Regions from separate parts of the Homo sapiens genome. Here all the other regions are linked to region 1. The links are contacts of gene promoters, found by promoter capture Hi-C in blood cells and fetal thymus (Javierre and others, 2016). All regions are on one chromosome and are shown on one strand. The core of a region is centred on a gene start or on the middle of the fragment in contact, and the rest is flanking DNA. Distances in the headings are between cores, read along the strand shown.

The links. The method cuts DNA at HindIII sites, captures the fragments that hold promoters and counts their contacts. A CHiCAGO score of 5 or more calls a contact.
Region 2: a fragment that was not itself captured here is called in contact with the fragment with the promoter of ADORA1 in region 1 in 2 of 17 cell types (M1 macrophages and M0 macrophages); the score reaches 6.0 in M1 macrophages.
Region 3: a contact is called between a fragment that was not itself captured here and the fragment with the promoter of ADORA1 in region 1, in 1 of 17 cell types (M1 macrophages). The highest score is 6.6, in M1 macrophages.

What each region holds. Positions count from the first base shown.
Region 1 is chr1:203,126,009-203,129,172 of GRCh38, forward strand. It overlaps ADORA1 (adenosine A1 receptor), which reads left to right and starts at 1,718. Exons shown (of 4, transcript NM_000674.3): 1 at 1,718-1,920; 2 at 2,270-2,424; 3 at 2,777-3,164. The coding sequence starts at 2,834. RefSeq lists an enhancer at 1,442-2,422. The HindIII fragment of the contact is 5,732 bases long and covers 1-3,164 here.
Region 2 is chr1:203,030,570-203,033,733 of GRCh38, forward strand. All of the region lies in intron 1 of PPFIA4 (PPFI scaffold protein A4), which reads left to right. Among named protein-coding and RNA genes, the nearest start is that of PPFIA4, 5.7 kb to the left of the region's middle. The HindIII fragment of the contact is 4,311 bases long and covers 1-3,164 here.
Region 3 is chr1:203,052,410-203,055,573 of GRCh38, forward strand. PPFIA4 (PPFI scaffold protein A4) reads left to right here. Exons shown (of 30, transcript NM_001304331.2): 15 at 1,344-1,552; 16 at 3,023-3,164. Among named protein-coding and RNA genes, the nearest start is that of PPFIA4, 28 kb to the left of the region's middle. RefSeq lists enhancers at 2,140-2,891, 2,892-3,164. The HindIII fragment of the contact is 5,243 bases long and covers 1-3,164 here.

The DNA.
Region 1 (3,164 bases), core at 468-2,967:
ACCTACAGGCATTATGCAAATGCATCCACTACATGTCAGCAACCTGTGGTAAGATGAATCGGAGGTGGGAGTGTATGTGTATGGGAGGTGGTGGTGGGTGCTCAGTTGCCCTCCAGAGCTGAAGATGCTGTCAATAGTTAGACAGGGTGACCCCACTCACCCATCCCCGTCCCCAAGCTGGGCCCATCTGGGTCTTCACAGTCTCTTCTGACATCTAGTTGAGTGACCATTGGGAAGCTGAGTGTAAACTGAGAGAGAAAGCCTTGAGCCAAAAATGGCTTAAGTCAAGCAAAGGGTGGAGAGGCAGGGGATGGTCGCAAAGGCCTGCATGTCTGGGTGGCAGGGGGAGTAGGCAGGACGTCAGGTGCTGTTGGGCGTGTTGACAAAGTCAGCAGGGGAAGTGCAAGGGGACGAGGAGGAAGGAGAGTTTACACTTCCTAATTTCTCCAACTAGCTTCTAGGGAAGGAATGTAATTTTGCTGTCTGAGGCACTGATTCCTTGCTCCCCCTAAAGGCAGAAATGGAAGTTATTTTTCCCCACAGAGGGCTTCCCCCTCCTCCTCAGAAGACTCAACTGCCCTTCCTCCCTGCCTCCCAGCTACCCAGGTTCCGGGTCCCACATCATTCCTCACTGTGATTCAGTGCAGCCCCCAATGGGAGCAACGTGCCCACCCTCCTCTGGGCAGAACCCTTTTCCTTGCATTCTGAGATCCAGTGAGGGGGGCAGTACCCCCAGAGGCCAGGTTGGGTTGTGGCTAGCTAACATTGGGGTCCCCAGCCTGACTCTCTTTGCCTTCCTAGAACCCTTGCCCAATACCCACAAACAAGGATTTCTCAGGTTGGGATCTCTGCGAGGCATCCATCCATGTCCAGGGTCTGGTCATTAGTTAATATCAGTGGACTGCCTAAACCGAAACTGGCAGAAGGTGGCCAGGGGAGGGGTCTGGACCCAGTGGAGAGAGTCAGGAGCCTGGGATTCTTATTTTGGTCCTGTTAGGATTTGCCCTGTGACCCTCCGGAAGTCCCTTGCTTCCCTGAGCCTGCTTCTTTATCTGTAACATGAGGGGATTGGACTGGATGCCTTATGGCTTAGCGCTGTGCTATGAAGAGGAAGAAGGAGGAAGGAAAAGGAGCGCAGAGCGGGTTACACTGCCAGGAGATCCTGGGAAGCTAGGTCACTTCCCTGAGCCTCAGCATCCTTATCTGCAAAATAGAAATTGCTAATAGACTAAAAGGCAATTCTGAAAGATGGATGAGAAAGGAATATAATGACTCAGGGTAGAGCCTGCAAAACAATATGGGATGAGAAGATGCAGGGACTGGTTTCATGGAGAGAGCAGGGTTTTAGGATTGGGGGAGGGTGCCAGGGCTACCGACTGCTTTGGGAGATCCCAGAGGGGGCATTCTGAAGTCCTGCAGAAGAGATGCTGTGCCGTGAGGGGTGAGGGGTCGCTGGAGGCCAGACCAGGGCTCCCAGGAGTCCTGCATTGAGAAGGGAGAGAGTGGACACAGGAAGGATGCGCCTCTGTCCAGTCCTGAGGCTGGGCGCACACACCAGGCCCTTCGAAAAGCTCACATTTTTTCCAGCTTTTCTCACCCAGTATCACTTCCTTTGTTAAGAGGAGGGGGTGGGGGAGGAGACGGAGGATGAGGAGGGAGGGGCTGGCGGGTGCCGCCGCCGCCCCCGCCCCCTCCCGGTGTGCGGAGCCCGATTGTCACTCAGCTCCTGCGCCGGGGGCGACAGAGCCGCAGGCGCCCGAGTCGAGTCCCAGCCAGCTACCATCCCTCTGGAGCTTACCGGCCGGCCTTGGCTTCCCCAGGAATCCCTGGAGCTAGCGGCTGCTGAAGGCGTCGAGGTGTGGGGGCACTTGGACAGAACAGTCAGGCAGCCGGGAGCTCTGCCAGCTTTGGTGACCTTGGGTAAGTCTGAGTCTCGGTTCACCCCTGGGGCTCCCCAATGGGGGTGCAGGAGAGGGTTGAAAGAAGAGACCGGAATGCCCCCTTGGGGCAGGCCATGGGCAAGGTTCCCCGACAGAGCTGGAACGGGACCAGAGGACTGCTAAGATCCAGGCACCAGACGGGTCTCAAGTGGGTGGGCGCAGGGCAGGTGCGGGCACGCTGGGGAATAGGGAGAAACGCCCCAGCCTTGTCCTGGGCTCCGTCCCCAGACCCACGTCTGCCACCCCAGTCCCAGGTGCGAAACAGGGGCGCTACCTCTTTAAAAGCGTCCGGGGCTGAGTCTCTGCCGTACCATGTGATTGCTTGAAAGGCCGGGCTGGGAGCGCTGCGGCGGGAGCCGGAGGACTATGAGCTGCCGCGCGTTGTCCAGAGCCCAGCCCAGCCCTACCGCGCGCGGCCCGGAGCTCTGTTCCCTGGAACTTTGGGCACTGCCTCTGGGACCCCTGCCGGCCAGCAGGCAGGATGGTGAGCTCCCTGCATCCTGTTCTGTGCACAGGGGTGGGCAGAGCCAGTCATGGGAGACCCCTCTGTGCGTGTGTCTGTGTGTGCGCGCGCGCTGGGAGCTGCCTCACACCTGATAAAAAAGCCAGTGGAGGAGTGAGCGCTGCTATTTTAAGTTGCTGAATGGAACCTCTGGGAATGATAAAGGGAAGGGACAAAGATTAGGCAGAGAAGGGTCCGGGTGCCCCTCCAGCCTGGGTAGGAGCTGCATGTGACAAGTGGGACACATCACAGGGTACCTGGAGTTCCAGGGCAGCCTGAGCTCCCTGCCCCTCCCAGACGGGTCTCCCCATCCCAGGCTTCCCTGACCACACAGGTGCTTGCCTCGTGCCCCTTGGTGCCCGTCTGCTGATGTGCCCAGCCTGTGCCCGCCATGCCGCCCTCCATCTCAGCTTTCCAGGCCGCCTACATCGGCATCGAGGTGCTCATCGCCCTGGTCTCTGTGCCCGGGAACGTGCTGGTGATCTGGGCGGTGAAGGTGAACCAGGCGCTGCGGGATGCCACCTTCTGCTTCATCGTGTCGCTGGCGGTGGCTGATGTGGCCGTGGGTGCCCTGGTCATCCCCCTCGCCATCCTCATCAACATTGGGCCACAGACCTACTTCCACACCTGCCTCATGGTTGCCTGTCCGGTCCTCATCCTCACCCAGAGCTCCATCCTGGCCCTGCTGGCAATTGCTGTGGACCGCTACCTCCGGGTCAAGA
Region 2 (3,164 bases), core at 453-2,952, 95 kb before region 1:
GCTAGTTGTGGAGTGCCCCAAATTTTTGGTCCTACTTTGGGGCAGAGCCCCTGGAGTAAGTGGAGCTTTCATTCTTTCAGTATCACCCCATCCCTCCCTCCTCTCTCGATTATACCTTCTCACATAGGTTCGAGGCCACACGTGGACTTACGCTGTCTCATGAGCAGCAATACACTTTCATGATCACACACGCATACTTGCACAAGCTCTCACAGCTCCCATGTGCTCCTGGGAGCATGTATGATGTTATGAATCCCAGATGCTTATGCATGTATGACCACACACATTTACTGTCATGGCTGTGTACCCACACATGTGTTCTCATGACCACAATTATATGCAGTCAAGATCCCTGATGTACTTATGACCACACACATCTACACACTGTCATGAGTCTATATACCTACTTGCTCTCATGCCTGTGCTCTCAGGATGCCATTCTTATGACCATACCTTTATACACAGACATACATACAACATATACTCTCTCTCTCTCTCGGTCCCCTTTTCCCCTCTCTCTCCCTATTGCCCAGGCTGGAGTGCAGTGGCATGATCATGGCTCACTGCAGCCTCAACCTCCTGGGTTCAAGTGCTCCTCCCACCTCAGTCTCCCGAGTAGCTGGGAATACAGGTGCATGCCACCATGCCCAGCTAGTTTTCATATTTTTAGTAGAGATGGGGTTTTGCCATGTTGCCCAGGCTGGTTTCTAAGTCCTGAGCTTAAGCAATCTCCCTGCCTTGGCCTTCCAAAGTGCTACTGCACCGAGGGCTTATGCCCGAGGCATGAACTACCACTGCACTGGCTTCTCTTCCTTTTTCATGGCCACACATATATACCATGCGTTCTCATGATCACACACACACTCTGTTGCATGACGACACATGACACCCCCCCATTCTCTTTTCGTACTGCCCGCCACTTCTGTGACCACATACTAATGCACATTTTTTATGATGCCTACATTCCTCCCTGCAGTTCTGTACTCTGGACATTTTACACCTGGTGCCTATTAGCACTCCGGACCCGTCCTCTTCTCTCCTCTGCGATGGCTCCCTAATCTGATGGGTTGATCTACGAATGCAGTGACTTTGAGCATTTTTTTACCACCAGAGGACCCTGTTTAATATTTGTCCCACATGGATCCCTAGTTTTGAAATATTTTTATTCTCCAAATTTGCTATGCTTATTACTTTGTTTCTTCTTCTGCAAACATTATTTGAGGACATTTGTGTTGATTAATGGCTCTGATTAGCAGAAGATGTCTAGGGTTTTCTCTGGGAATGTACTTAATGATGTAAGTTCAGCAAAAGCTGTGTCTGTATTCGGTGGTGCAGACTCATATTTTGACTTAGTAACTATATGATCTCTATTAGACAGTTAGAGTGTGGAAAATGGTTGGCTCCTGGTGTTACTTGTGTAGCATTCCCAGGGTTGTCACTGTTGCACTGATGTACAGCCTTTCTGAGAGAACGTGTGTGTGTGTGTGTGTGTGTGTGTGTGTTTTAGCAGGGGGCTTCTGTAGACAATATTTAAACTAGGGATTTTCTAACCTCTTCATGGACTTGGAATCCTTTTATACAATTGAAACCTTAATCAGATGTCCCATAAAACGGACAGATTAGGAGTTGATGGGATTAAAGTAAGAAAAGGGAATTTAGAGCCTTTTGAGTTTGTCACACCTCTTCACCCTCCTTTTGGCCTTGGACTGCCCCTAAAGGTACTTTGTCGTAAAGCCTAGTTTGCAAACACCAGTCTTAAGTTAAAAAGGTAGGTGTGATGTCTATAATTTTGGGTATTTCAGAAGAGGAACTATTTGCGGATGGGGGCCCAGAGGCTTGTAGTTCTCCCTTCCCCGCTTTTTTGTTGTTGTTGTTGTTTTTGAAATAGGGTCTTGCTCTGTTACCCAGGCTGGAGTAAGTAGTGTGATCTTGGCTTACTGCAGCCTCCATCTCCTAGGCTTAAGTGATCCTCCCACTTCAGCCTCCTGAGTAACTGGGACTGTAGTCTGTAGACGCATGCCGCTGTGCCCAGCTAACATTTTTTTTTTTTTTTTTTTTTTAAGAGAGGATGTCTCACCATGTTGCTTAGGCTGGTCTTGAACTCTTGGGCTCAAGCAGTCTTTCACCTCATCCTCCCAAAGTGCTGGGATTAGAGGCATGAGCTACCATGCCCGGCCTTCCCCATTAGTTTTGACATTAGTCCTACTAGGGTGGCAATGGCAAGGGTGACCATATGGCTAGGTGAAACCTGTGTTCTGGTGTGATTGTTAACAGTGGTTTACTGTCTAAACCATGACCCTCTAAACCAAGAGGATCATGGTTTAGACAGTAAGTTCTGTGCTCACTCAAGTGATAGGCCATGTCTTGGGAAGAGGTGGCCCATGTCTAACTCCTGGGGAGCAGCTGGAGAGCTGGGCTTCACAGACTCAGGCCCAGGGGAGCCTGTCTGAACAGATGCTTCCTTCCGTGTCCCCTGAATGAGCCTGGCATTAGGAGGCTGAGTGTATTCGGCAGCTGGTACTAACCTGTGCTTGGGCGGCATTTTATACTTCTCAGAACTGTTTCATGTCTGTTACCTCTTTGAGCCTCATGACAACCTGTGAGAGCACTGGAGCGTATTGTGTGTTATAATGTTCATTTTCCAGATTTGGGAACCTGATCACAGAGGGGTAAAGTCTCACTGCTAGTCGTGTTGGGGGCCCAGAGAACTGGATGCTTTTGAAGGGATCTGTGGCTAGCAGTGGAAACTCTTAAGTGGGGCTTTTCCAAGAGTTTTTTCTCTGGGAATGGCTTCCTGTAGCCAGAATAGATTTGTAATTTTCTTATTGTAGTTCAGTGGGCCCAGCCTTGAGGCGCTTTGGGAGCCTAGGGTGCTGAGAGTTCATGAACACTTACCGAGTTTTGCTGGGTGCTGATCTCAGCACTTTGTGTAGGCTGACTCTAGACATCCTGTGTCCCAGCTGTCTGAGGTGGGTACTGTTATCATTCCCATTCACAGAGGTTGGGGAATGGAAGCTCAGAGAGATTCAGGATCTTCCCAGGGTCACCTGCATCATCAGCTGCTCTGGAGTCTGCCTTTCAAGACAGGAGCAGCCCCCATCTTGCTCTCAAGAAGGTTTAATTTTCAGACCAGGTGTGGTGGCTCACACCTATAATACTAGCAC
Region 3 (3,164 bases), core at 188-2,687, 74 kb before region 1:
TGGGAAAGTGCAATTATTCGTCATGCTCTGTCCTGAATCCAGGTCCTCTAAATATCATTTAGAGCACTGGGGTATTAGAAGATATAGATGGAGAAAGAGGGAACTCCTAGTCTCAGGGGAAGATTCACTCTGCCCTTAAGAAATCCTCAGTCCGATGGGGGAGTCACAGTCTGAAGGTGCCTCTTTTTCTTTCTCCCCCGACTTCTTTGCTCTTTCTGTTTATAAGAATATAGCAGCTATCCAGGAGCTGAGAGGCTGCAGGAGCCTGAAGGGGAGCTAGGGGGCTTGGGTCATAGAGGATGGGTGTTAGAGTACCTTTCTGTCCCTGGCTCCCTTCCTTCCTTCTCTACTCTTCTGTTCTCCACCCTCCCCTCTTCTGGGCCTTTGTCCGCTGGATAGGTTTGTAGGATGATTTCAGAGAAGCTGCCGCCTCTCAGGGTTGACCAGACTGTCCTGTGATGATCTGAAACTCTGCAGACTGTCTATTCAGGCCTGCTTGGCCTTTCTGTTCTCTGGGTGTAGTCAGCCTTTGAGTTTGTATGGATGGAAACTGATAGCATTTATGTAGTGCTTGCTTTGTGCCAGGCACAGTGCTAAGGGCTTTACATGTATTTTCCTCATTTGATCCTCACAGCTATCTATGAGGTAAGTACTTTACCATCCCTATTTTACAGATGAAGAAACTGAGGCACAGAGAGGTTAAAAAATGTTCCTATGGTTGCACAACTAGTGTTTGGTGGAGATGAGATTCAAACCAAAGCCGTCTCTCTCTGGATTCTCTTCTTAACAGTTAGAGCAGTATTTCTTAGACTGTAATGTGCAAACAAATCACCCAGGGGTCAGCCGGGCACGGTGGCTCACGCTTGTAATCCCAGCACTTTGGGAGGCTGAGGTGGGTGGATTGCTTGAGCTCAGAAGTTCACTACCAGCCTGGGCAACATGGTGAAACCCCGTCTCTACTAAAATACAAAAAATCAGCCGGGCGTGGTGGCGTGCGCTTGTAATCCTAGCTACTCGGGAGTCTGAGGCAGGAGAATTGCTTGAACCTGGGAGGCGGAGGTTGCAGTGAGCCGAGATCACGCCACTGCCCTCCAGCCTGGGTGACAGAGGGAGACTCCATCTCAAAAAACAAACAAACCAAAAACCAAAAACCAAAAAACCACCCAGGGGTCTTGTTAAAATGCAGATGTTGAATCAGTAGGTCTGGTGGTGCGGCCTGAGATTCTGCATTTCCAGCAAGCTCCCAGGAGATGCCAGTGCTGGTGGGTAGAGGTAGGGAGGGTCCTGCTCTGCAGTTATCTGGGTGTCTTATTACGACTCCTTTACCCTCCTCCTTTGCTAAGGACTGGGAGACTTCTCCACTGCCTGGGATGCTGGCCCCGGCAGCTGGCCCTGCCTTTGACAGTGACCCTGAGATCTCCGACGTGGATGAGGATGAGCCAGGGGGTCTGGTGGGCTCTGCGGATGTTGTCTCCCCCAGCGGCCACTCAGATGCCCAGACCCTGGCCATGATGCTGCAGGAGCAGCTGGATGCCATCAATGAGGAAATCAGGTTAGGGCAGGGCTGGAGGGCTTGGGAAGTGCATTGAAGGGCAGGGGGGCCCTTTGTGTTGGAAAAACCCTATATGGGTTTGCCCAACTCTTATAGCTGCAACTTAGAGTACCACAGTTCAGGGACCCTCTGTGGGTCATCAGGCCCGCTGCCAGTGCCGGAGTGAGAGGAGCAGGGCCTCAGTGGACTTCTCAGGCTTCACCTCCCCTCTCAGGGCTTGCGATGTGGCTGGGCTCAGGAGGATGCATGCTGTGTTCCTGCAGCCCTGCAGCTGATCTTAACCACTAAGAGTGTAGCTCCTGCTTACTGAGGCTAGCTCAGGGTGAGAGCTTTGTAAATGTCACTGTCCATCTTACCACAGTGCCTGAGGTAGGCAGCATGATCCCTGTTTTACAGACAAGGGAACAGAAACTCAGAGAGGTTAAGTGACTTGCCCAAAGCCACACAGAAGTGACAGAGCCAGGATTCAAACTCAAGTCTGAACTTGGCCCACTGCACCATGCCTCCTGTCCCTAATAAGGCATCAAACAGAAACAGTGACAGGGAACGTTGTGAAAACCTTCACTTTGTCCTGCCTTTTTAATGAGTTTATTAATGTTAATGACAAACAGCAGGGCAATATCTGAGCTGGAGTGTATCAGAGCTTTATAAGCTGTACAGGACATCCAGTTCAATGGTTCAATGTATTGCACAGACCAGTTACAAAGAAGACACACACACACACACACACACACACACACATACACACACAGAGAGAGAGAGAGAAAGGTACAAACGTAGGACCACCAGCTTTTTATTTTGCAAAGTAAAACATTAATGATAATGACTATCTATTATCGCAATCATTTTGCAAAAGAAAGGACATTTTAACATTCCTGAAGTAAGAAAGACATACTCAGAATAAAGGCGAGTCCTTCTTTGTGAAAGGGAGTGGGCATCTTTACTGGAGCATGTGTGTGTGAGAGAGTGTGTGTGTGTGCGTGTGCATGCACTCCTTGCTGAGTGCCTCCCAGGCACACACGTGTACCATTTTTATTATTTCTCTCATTTTTCTGTGGAACAGGGAAAACCCCACCAGGGGTCAGCATCATTTAAAAGTCCTACACTTGGAAACTGCTGACTTATACCACTTCAGACATAGCATATGTTGGGAAACTGAGGCACAGACAGCAAAATACCTGACTCAAGGCCACCCTATAGTTAGGGGTATGTCAAGAATTCTGATTTTCAGGATGGTTTATGTTCCACTGACGAAAGTGCCTCCTTCCCCAGCAGCTGCTTTTGTTAAACGGAGGGAGTAGGCAAGCTAACAAGAAAGAGATGTGTTTCTAAGCTCCAGTGGGACAGACAAAGCCTGGCGGGTGTACACCGCATGTGGTCCTTGGTGGCGAGTGCAGGCATCGACCCGCACTGCCTCCTGCTGGTCCTGGCTGGGGCTAGTGGTGAGGTCTGGTTTTGCCTCCCTTCCAGGATGATTCAGGAAGAGAAGGAGTCCACGGAGCTCCGCGCGGAGGAGATTGAGACGCGTGTAACCAGTGGCAGCATGGAAGCCCTAAACCTGAAGCAGCTGCGCAAGCGTGGTTCCATCCCCACCTCTCTGACGGCCCTGTCC